Linked DNA regions of Homo sapiens: regions 1 and 2 are each linked to region 3. Evidence: promoter capture Hi-C in 16 types of primary human blood cells and fetal thymus (Javierre and others, 2016). All regions are on one chromosome and are shown on one strand. Each heading gives the region's core, a stretch centred on a gene start or on the middle of the fragment in contact. The rest is flanking DNA. Distances are from core to core; before and after follow the strand shown. Region 1 has its middle 68 kb from the start of MAGED1. Region 2 has its middle 36 kb from the start of MAGED1. Region 3 holds the start of GSPT2 (G1 to S phase transition 2).

Region 1 (3,262 bases), core at 33-2,532, 82 kb after region 3:
GATAGTTTTACTTCCTTTATTAGATATAGAATTCTTGATTGCAGTTTTTTTTCTTTCTGTAACTTGAATATGTCTTCCCACTGCTTTTTGGCCATGACTTCTGAGGAGAAGTCAACTGTTAAACTTCTGTTTTCTTGTTTGTGAAGAGTTGTTTTTCTCTTATTGCTCTTTGGGATTTTCTCCTTGTTTTTGGCTTTCAGTATTTTTATTATGATGTGCCTATGTGTATATACTTCTCATTTTTCCTACTTGGTGTTTGTTTGCTTTTTAGAATGTGTATGTAAACATTTTTTCATCAAATTTGTGATGCTTTCAGCTGTAATTTGTTCAAATATCTTCTTCCTCTTTTCTATTTTCTTCTCTGATTCCCATTATATGTATTTTGGTTGCTAGATGATTTCTTACAAGTTTCTGAGGCTGTGTTTATATTGTCTCTGTGTGTGTGTGTGTGTGTGTGTGTGTGTCTGTATATATATATATACACATACATATATACACGTATGTATATATACACATATATATACGTATATATACGTACATATATGTATATATACATATATATATATGCACAGACACACACAGTCTCAGAAACCTGTGTGTGTGTGTGTGTGTGTGTGTGTGTGTGTGTGTGTAAAATTTCTGTTCCTCAGACTGGATGATCTGAATTGGACTATCTTGCTGACTATTTTTTTCTATCAGTGTAAATCTGCTCTTGAGCCCCTCTAATGAATTTTTCGTATCTGTTACTTTATATTTGTAGGGGGCTTGAAGGATTTAGGGGCTTATCAAAGAAAGACATATGTCTATGAGGTGGCAGTATCACACACAAGCTTTATTGGGAGATGTGTTGACAGGCTTGCATGTTGGGGAAGTCTCTCACAGTAGGAGCCTGTCCAGAGGCCATGGCTTGGGAGTTGCTACTCTGAAGGGGAAGAGGCCATGGAATTTCCAGAGAGGGAGATTGTAGAGGGGACTTGACTTACATGTTTAGGTGATGGCTACTCAGCAGCACAGTGGGGAGTCTCTGGGTCAGAGAGAGCTCTAAAGGGCAACAATGTGTCAAAAGACAAAATTACAACAAATTTAGTTTAAAGATCTCACTTGGCCGTATTTGTGATTCTAGAATCAGGCAACACTATTCCACAAAATAGAATACTTGTTCAAATGAGCTGAGAGCAGAAGAGGTTGACTTCGTAGAGGAGAAGGGCTGAAGAAGCAAAGAACAAAGTGTATTTATTGTATGTGTAACCACTAAAGTATCTACTCAGTAGCTTAGCCATCATTGGATAAAGATTTCCTTAAATGCCTGGGACCAATAAATTGCATCATCTTTAACAAAGGGATCTGTATACATCTTGGGGCATGCAACACTTAGCCAGGCAGTTTACAACCGTACATTAGCCTTCACTTCCTGATTGCAAAGAGCCGAAAAGTCAGTTAGAAGTGAGAGTTTATGGCCTTCTCAGGTGTTTCCTGAGCATGCACACAGCCCTATACATGCAGATGGTCTTCTATATTCCCTAGAAAATATCAGAACTCTTCAAATCCCCTATTGATAGCTTATTCCTCAGCTTTTCCTTTCATTCTTTTTATTTAGTTTATTGTTTGCTCCAAGTGTTATCATTTGTGGAGGGGCTTTTAGTATGGGTTTTGCACTGAATCAAACATAAACCTTTTAAGTAGCGTCTTCTGGGGAACCAACAGACAGGACAAATAATGACAGTTCTTTAGAACTGAAGCTTTGGGAGTTGATGCCACTGCTAAACAGCTGAGCCAGCTAATGTAGTTCTTTGACAGCACAGAAATGTAGGGAGAAATGAGCAGCCCCTGGCTGAAATGCCGCAGACTCTCCTTGTTCTTACTTAGTTCTGTAGATTTTGTTGCCGTTGATCAATCCCCAGAGACTTTAGGTGATTGGCTTTGCTTGTTTTGACCAGTTTTATTAGATGTCTCTTTGGGGAGGAGATTTCACTGAGCTCCTCACATAGCCATTCCAGAATTCCCATAAGTTTGGTGTTGTATCTAAAACCTCATTGCTAAAGCCTAAGGTCATGCAAGTTTTCTGTTTTCTTCTAGAAGTTTTATAATTTTCTGTTTTATATTTAGATTCGTGATCCATTTTGAATTAATTTTCATGTGAAGTGTGAGGTTTGTGTCATAATTTTATTTTGCACATGGATTCCAGTTGTTTCAGCACCATTTTTTTTGGCAAAGATTGTCCTTCTCCATTGAATTACCTTTATGCTTATGTAAAAAAAAATCAGTTGACTAAATGAAATAAACTGATTAAAAAATAGGCAAAAGACCTGAACAAAGACACCTCACCAAAGAAAATATACAGATAATATATAAGCATGTGCAAAGATGCTCAACAGCATATGTTATTAGGAAATTGTAAGTTAAAAAAGATACCACTACACATTTATTAGAATGTTCCAAATCCAAAACACTAAGAACATCACATACTGGTGGAAAGATGAAGCGACAGGAGCTCTCATTCTTTCCTGGTGGGAATACAAAATGGTATAGCCACTTTGGAAAACAGTTTGACAGTTTCTTACAAAACTAAATGTAGTCTTACCATATGATCCAGCGATTGCGTTCCTTGATATTTACTCAAATGGGTTGAAAACTTATGTCTACACAAAACTCTGCACATAAATGTTTATAGTAGCTTTATTCCTAATTGCCAAAATGTAGAAACAATCAAGATGTCCTTTAGTAGGTGAATGGATAAATTGTAGTGCGTCCAGACGATGGAGTTTAGTGCCAAAAAAGGGCTATGAAAAGCCTTTTCAAGCCATGAAAAGATATGGTGGAATCATATGTGCATATTACTGAGTTTTAAAATAAGCCAGTCTGAAAAGGCTGCATATCCCAGCTACTCAGAGGCTGAGGTGGGAGGATGGCTTTAGCCTGGGAGGCAGAGGTTGCAGTGAGCTGAGATTGCACAGCACCCCAGCCTGGACAACAGAGCGAGTCCCTGTCTCAAAAAAACAAAGAAAAAAAAAAGAAAGAAAAGGCTACATACTGTATGATTCCAAGTATTTGACATTCTGGAAAAGGCAAAACTATGGAGACAGTAAAAAGATCAGTGGCTTCCAGGGTTTGGGGGTTGGGAATGGATGAATAGACGGAGCACATGGGATTTTTAGGGCAGTGAATCTACTCTGTATGGTACTATAATAGTGGATACATGTGTTTATACATTTGTGAAAACCTATAGAATGTACAACACTGAGAGTAAACCCCAATGTAAACT
Region 2 (3,547 bases), core at 117-2,616, 110 kb after region 3:
ATTGCAGGTGCCCACCACCATGCCCGGCTAATTTTTGTGTTTTTAGTAGAGACGGGTTTTCACCATGTTGGCCAGGCTGGTCTCAAACTCCTGACCTCAAATGATCTGCCCGCCTCGGCCTCCCAAAGTGCTAGGATTACAGGCATGAGCCCCCGCACCGGGCTTATCTCCTCTTCTTATAAGGACACCAGGCATGTTGGATTAGAACTCTAATGATGTCATTTTAATTTAACTACCTAACTAGACACTAATGATGTCATTTTTAATTTAACTACCTTTTTAAAGATCTTGTCTCCAGTGTAGTCACGTTCTGAGGTACTAGGGGTTGGGACTTCACCGTATGAATTTTGAGGGGACACAGTTCAGCCCATAACACCTGCTTTCTTCTCTAAAAGTTATCTTTTAAGAATTCCCACTTGTCGATAACAATTCTTTGACAATAGTTCTGATGACTACATAATATCCCATCATTAAAATATACCACAATTTACTTAATCAATTTCATATTCTTGGACCTTTCAGGTGTTTTCATTTTTTCACTAATATAAATGCTTCCATAAGTAGTTTTGTACATGGATGTTTGGATATCTGACTATTTGTTTGGAATAGATTGCTTGAAGAGTGATTATTGGGTCAAAAGGTATGACTATTCTCTGGTTTTTAATTACATACTGCAAAATTGTTTTCCAGAAAATTGTACTAATTTACATTCATACCAGGAAGGAGAATAGTCAGTTAGGCATTCATATAAGCTGCTGGTGGGAATGAGAAAGGAAAAATAAACTCTCATGGTTGTTTCACTTTACATTAATTGATGACTAACAAAATGGAATATTTCATGTATTTATTAATCTGTTTGCATTTCCTTTTTTGTGAACTGTTACTCATGTTCTTTGCCCATTTATGTATGTGAGTCTATCATTTTAGGTGATAAGATTATGATTTAGAGTGAGTTCTACTCTAAAGAGGGAAATTTCAGAAAAAGTGAAATTCCAAAGAATGTTATGGATCCAGAATCCAAGGACTATTGGTCTGAGTCTCTTCTTTGGAGAAGACTTGGCATGTGATGACATATAGGTAAAGGAATGGCTGCAGGAAAGCTTGGCAGGGAAGAGTTGAATGTATTCCTTACGCAGGGAAATTTGTTACAGGCACAGTACTGCCACTTATACTACTGAAGAGAAAGGCTGTGAGTGAATTAACTGAGGAAAGGCAAGCTAGATGCATATTATATATGGGAATCTTCTAGGAAAAAAAGCACAGAGATATGATTCACATGACCATAACTCTTGCAAAGGTTTTAGAATTTGTGAGACACTGGGGAGGTTCTCATGGGGAAAAGTCTTATGTATGTGATTAATGTCAAAAAGCCCTTTGTCAGTGTTCAAGGGAGGTACCTCAGAGTACTCATGATAAAGAGAAACCCTATGAATGCTGTGAATGTAGTGAATATAAAGAAATTTTTAATCATGATGCCAGTCTTACTTACCATCTGAGGACTCACACCTGAGAATTCATTGATTTGTTATGGCCATAAGAATGTGGAAAGGCAGGACATGATTCTCTTTCAACACCAGAAATTTCATAGGGTAGAAAAACTTTCCCAATGCTGGACAAATTGCAGTGGGTGATGAAGCTTTTTGAATCATGCAAAAGTTTATACTGGACAGAATCCCTATGAGTGTACTGACTGTGGGAAAGGCCTCAAGACAAACTCAGACTGTTTTTTTTAACATGAGAGAATTCATAGTGGAGAACAACCCTATGCTCATAATGCATGTGGAAAGGCTTTCAGATCCAGCTCAGACTTTACTAAACATGAGAGAATTCATAGTGGAAAGTAACCTTATGCAATGATGAATGTGGGAAAGGGTATCTGGAGATAACAGACCTTCAAAAACATTAGAAAATTTATAGCGGAGATGGAAAGAGATCCTTTCAGTGTAATGAATATGGAAATGTTTTTAATCTAGAGCTCAAATTTTATTTGTCATCAAAGATAATCTTTTACAATGAATATACAAAAACCTCCAAACAGAAATCAATCCTTGTTCATCATCTGCAGATTCATAGTGGACAGACACTCTGTACCTGTAATGAATAAGCCTTCAATTAGAGGCTAAGTCTTATTCATTATCAGAGGATTCATAAAGGCATCACCTTCTATGTACGTAAAAAATTATGGGTATGCTTTCAGCAGGATATCAGCCTTATTTGATATTGGCAAGTCTATAGCGAGTTCGCTTAAATGCAGTGAGTGTGGAAAGGCCTTCAATCTGAAGTTTAATCTTACTCAGCATCAGAAAATACAGAGTGGCAGGAATCTTATTAATGTAATGTGTGTGGGAAAGTCTTTATGAGAAAATCACGTCTTGGTAAAAATGAAAAAAAGATTCTTTGTAAAAGTTAAAATAGTTACCACATAATTACACGCCTGCCAGTGTGCCAAGCACTACAAGAACTTTACATTGTTTAATCATTTTTTTACAATAATCATACAATGTAGAAATCCTCGTTGTTTTACACACACATGAAGAAACCAAAGAAATGAGGTGGAAAAACTTCCCCAAGATCACATACTAGTCACTGGAAGAGCCAGGGTTTGAGTCCTAGAGAGTTTAATTGTTCTGGGTTTATAGTGGCAATATGTAAATCTTCAAGGATGTGTTAGTCTTTATTCATTATTAAGAAATTCCTTCAGAAATCAGGATTCACTCTTCAGTGAGTATTGGGAGCCTTCAGTCAGTTTTGGAATTAGAGACTCTACATTGGGTTCTATCAAATTTAGTAAGGACTATAAAGACTTTATCATATTTATATTATCCCTTTGAATAGGGATTACTTCCAATCTTGAAAGATTTCATTAATAACAAAATTCTGTTCTCAAATGCTCACCCTAACCACTTTCTGTGGTGTAGACAACGTGGAGTGGGATGGAAAGCACAGGCTCTGGGATTGGCCAGGATAGCTTCACCATCAGGAACAAGGTAGAGTTACCCAGTTCTTAAAAAGATTGAGTAGGAATGGAGAGGACAGATGTGGTGAGAGCTTCAGGAACAGAGTCAGGTCATTCTAGGAATTATAACCAAACAAGCCAAAATAAAGTAGAATTCAGCCTATAAGGAAGTGGAGAAGCTAGGGTATGTGGCATGATTTTCTCCCCAGATGGATTTAGCTATAGGTTGCTTGTGTATCACCCAGTATTCAGAGGAACTTGAATTTGAAATTGCTTCAGGAATATGCAGTACTCTAGCACTGAGTCAAAAATAAGCGTGACTTTCAGAAACTCAAGGTATAAGAAATATTAATAAATTGATTTTCTACCTTCTCACTTCAAGGAGGCAGTGTGCTACACCAGAAAGTATTCAGGATCTACCTTCAGGTATAACTGGGTTTATTTGCCAGCTTAACCACCTTCTAGCTGTGTGACTTTAGTTATATTAATAAATCTCTTTGAGTCTCACCTTGCTCATTTTTTTTTTAGGTCAGGATATAATACTGTACCAAGTTGTAAGGATTCTAGATAAAGGGTATAAAGTGTCTAGTA
Region 3 (3,636 bases), core at 818-3,317:
ACAGTGAAGTATCCTCTGTTCTCTGAGATATCACTAAGTAGCAGTCATACCAATATGTTCATGACCAATGCATTCGACCCAGGTGAAGGAAAAATCCCAGATGTCTCCTGCTTCCTTGCATGAATTACCTTATGTGAACACGGCTGCCAAAACCTTGACAGGTTCTCCCAGAAATGTCCATTCTAGGTTCACACAATGTCCAAGAAGGCTCCAGCACTTGTGTGGAGGGTCTCTCTGCACATTCTACCTCTCAGTTCTTCCTGTTTATTGTGAATAGGTGTGCACATTCTCTTTATGTCACTGTAAATAATTAATCCATAACCGGAGGCAAAAAGAATGAAGGTGTGGAAACAGTACAGAGCTAGTATAATAGTGGCAGCCCCAGAGTGAAAACATCAAGGGTCCAAGTCTGTCTTTTTTCCTACCCCTAAAGTCTGGAGAACACAATTCTCAAGTTATAATCAGGTACTTGGTTTTATAATATTTTGCTTTGTTGTTGGATTTAAATATCCAACTATGAGGCCAGGCGTGGTGGCTCATGCCTGTAATCCCAGCACTTTGGGAGGCCGAGGCAGGTGGATCACCTGAGGTCAGGAGTTCAAGACCAGTCTGGCCAACATGGTGAAACCCTGTCTCTACTAAAAATATATATTAAGAAAAATTAGCTGAGCTTGGTGGCGGACGCCTGTAATCCCAGCTACTCAGGAAGCTGAGGCAGGAGAATTGCTTGAACCCAGGAGGCAGAAGTTGCAGTGAGCTGAGATCATGCCACTGCACTCCAGCCTGGGCAACAAAAGTGAAACTTTGTCTCAAAATAAAAAAATAAATCCATCTATGTGACACCATCTTGTACTAAGCAGATTGTTTGGACTGAATAGTCTTTCTAGGTATGTCACAAAACCTGAATTCATAAAAGCAAAAGGTGACAGATTTGAGTACATGAAGACTAAAAACAGATTCAGAGAATAAGTTTGTATTTTCTATGTCAGTTTGCACTAAATTAATTTACAAACAAGGTCGCTGAGGCTTTGACTCAACTGTTAACACTTTCTGAGAGTGAGATTCTTTTGATTAGGGTCTTAAGGTCTTTGTTCATCTCAGAAGTCTTAATTGGTTTAATTAGGCTGACACCTACAGCCCTGTCTCATTACCATAAACTGTAGAGGGGTTCAACATGACACTGATTGTTTCTTAGAGCAAAGCCAGTGCAGTGAGTAGGATTCCAGGCCCCCCGGAATGAAGCAGGAAAACCCGAGGCCTGTGGATGCAGGATGTACTAGGGAGGTGCTGGGGAGTAGTGCAGATAAACCCAGAATTCAGTTGGTTGGTAAAACAAGAGTGATCTGAGTCCTGTGCTTGTCTACGTGATCCACCATTGAATGGCAGGCCAGCCATTGTGCAGGCATCTGCATATGAAGTGACTGGAAGCTTCACTGGAACAAGGATCTCCTTGGAAATTCTCTCCCCTCAGACAGCCAGGGTGCTTAACATGAAAAGAAGTTGTAACCCTATCCTTAAACTATAGAAGCCATCAGCAGAAGTTACAGGCTTATGGGGGCCCACTGGAAAGGGAAAATCAAAAGGCCTGTGGATTTCAAATTAATGAGTGATCTTAAGTTGCATTTCCTAAGTTCGGCTACAGACTCATATATTTCATGAGTCCCTCCCTACCCATTCCTTGCCTCTCCCTTCAGTTGCTGGGTTTCTGAATTTCTGTATAGTTAACCCTTATCTTGCCTCCCATTTGTTCAATAGAAATGATCACTTTTACTTGAATCTTTTGGTAGAATTGTATACCATGTGTTCCTGTCTAGGTTTAATCATCAGATTGTGGTCAAATTGCTCTGCCAGACTGTGTGAACAAAAAAGTGAATGGAAATTTTCGTTTTAAAAAATAATACTTTTGGACTTAGCCCGTGGCTAAGAAGAAGTAAGGAAGCCAAGCGTACGGATAGCAGCGAGGGGTCAATCCACGCCCGGCGTTGGGTCGGGGGTGGAGGAGTCGGAAGTGGTTGGGGTTTGGGGGAGGAGATCCGCTCACACACAAGAGGAGAGTGTTGAGCCGCCATATCTGCTGCTGCCGCCGCAGTTGCGAATGCAGCATCGGCGCTTAGCTGCCTCCGCGGTGCAGCTAAGGTTCGTGTCGCTACCCCTTGGCCCTTCGCTCTTGCTGCCTTAACCCCGCCGGCGGAGCCCGCTCTTCTGGCCTGTTGAGCCCGCTCCCTCACTGCCACACAGCAAGTTCCGAGACCATGGATTCGGGCAGCAGCAGCAGCGACTCGGCGCCCGATTGCTGGGACCAGGTGGACATGGAATCCCCGGGGTCGGCCCCGAGCGGGGATGGAGTCTCCTCTGCGGTGGCCGAGGCCCAGCGCGAGCCCCTCAGCTCGGCTTTCAGCCGTAAGCTCAACGTCAACGCCAAGCCCTTCGTGCCTAACGTACACGCCGCGGAGTTCGTGCCGTCCTTCCTGCGGGGCCCGACTCAGCCGCCCACCCTCCCGGCCGGCTCCGGCAGCAACGATGAAACCTGCACCGGCGCGGGATACCCTCAAGGTAAAAGGATGGGACGGGGGGCACCTGTGGAACCTTCCCGAGAGGAACCGTTAGTGTCGCTTGAAGGTTCCAATTCAGCCGTTACCATGGAACTTTCAGAACCTGTTGTAGAAAATGGAGAGGTGGAAATGGCCCTAGAAGAATCATGGGAGCACAGTAAAGAAGTAAGTGAAGCCGAGCCTGGGGGTGGTTCCTCGGGAGATTCAGGGCCCCCAGAAGAAAGTGGCCAGGAAATGATGGAGGAAAAAGAGGAAATAAGAAAATCCAAATCTGTGATCGTACCCTCAGGTGCACCTAAGAAAGAACACGTAAATGTAGTATTCATTGGCCATGTAGACGCTGGCAAGTCAACCATCGGAGGACAGATAATGTTTTTGACTGGAATGGTTGACAAAAGAACACTGGAGAAATATGAAAGAGAAGCTAAGGAAAAAAACAGAGAAACCTGGTATTTGTCCTGGGCCTTAGATACAAATCAGGAGGAACGAGACAAGGGTAAAACAGTCGAAGTGGGTCGTGCCTATTTTGAAACAGAAAGGAAACATTTCACAATTTTAGATGCCCCTGGCCACAAGAGTTTTGTCCCAAATATGATTGGTGGTGCTTCTCAAGCTGATTTGGCTGTGCTGGTCATCTCTGCCAGGAAAGGAGAGTTTGAAACTGGATTTGAAAAAGGTGGACAGACAAGAGAACATGCGATGTTGGCAAAAACGGCAGGGGTAAAACATTTAATAGTGCTTATTAATAAGATGGATGATCCCACAGTAAATTGGAGCATCGAGAGATATGAAGAATGTAAAGAAAAACTGGTGCCCTTTTTGAAAAAAGTAGGCTTCAGTCCAAAAAAGGACATTCACTTTATGCCCTGCTCAGGACTGACCGGAGCAAATATTAAAGAGCAGTCAGATTTCTGCCCTTGGTACACTGGATTACCATTTATTCCGTATTTGGATAACTTGCCAAACTTCAACAGATCAATTGATGGACCAATAAGACTGCCAATTGTGGATAAGTACAAAGATATGGGCACTGTGGTCCTGGGAAAGCTGGAATCCGGGTCCATTTTTAAAGGCCAGCAGCTCG

What was found. Contacts are between HindIII fragments. The CHiCAGO score rates a contact against its expected background, and 5 or more counts as called.
Region 1: a contact is called between a fragment that was not itself captured here and the fragment with the promoter of GSPT2 in region 3, in 1 of 17 cell types (fetal thymus). The highest score is 8.7, in fetal thymus.
Region 2: a contact is called between a fragment that was not itself captured here and the fragment with the promoter of GSPT2 in region 3, in 1 of 17 cell types (fetal thymus). The highest score is 5.9, in fetal thymus.

Annotation. Positions count from the first base shown.
Region 1 is chrX:51,824,270-51,827,531 of GRCh38, forward strand. It overlaps a transcript of MAGED1 not described here. Among named protein-coding and RNA genes, the nearest start is that of MAGED1, 68 kb to the right of the region's middle. The HindIII fragment of the contact is 909 bases long and covers 829-1,737 here.
Region 2 is chrX:51,855,662-51,859,208 of GRCh38, forward strand. It overlaps a transcript of MAGED1 not described here and the pseudogene LOC100631242. Among named protein-coding and RNA genes, the nearest start is that of MAGED1, 36 kb to the right of the region's middle. The HindIII fragment of the contact is 536 bases long and covers 1,099-1,634 here.
Region 3 is chrX:51,741,375-51,745,010 of GRCh38, forward strand. It overlaps GSPT2 (G1 to S phase transition 2), which reads left to right and starts at 2,068. Exons shown (of 1, transcript NM_018094.5): 1 at 2,068-3,636. The coding sequence starts at 2,253. The HindIII fragment of the contact is 6,668 bases long and covers 1,427-3,636 here.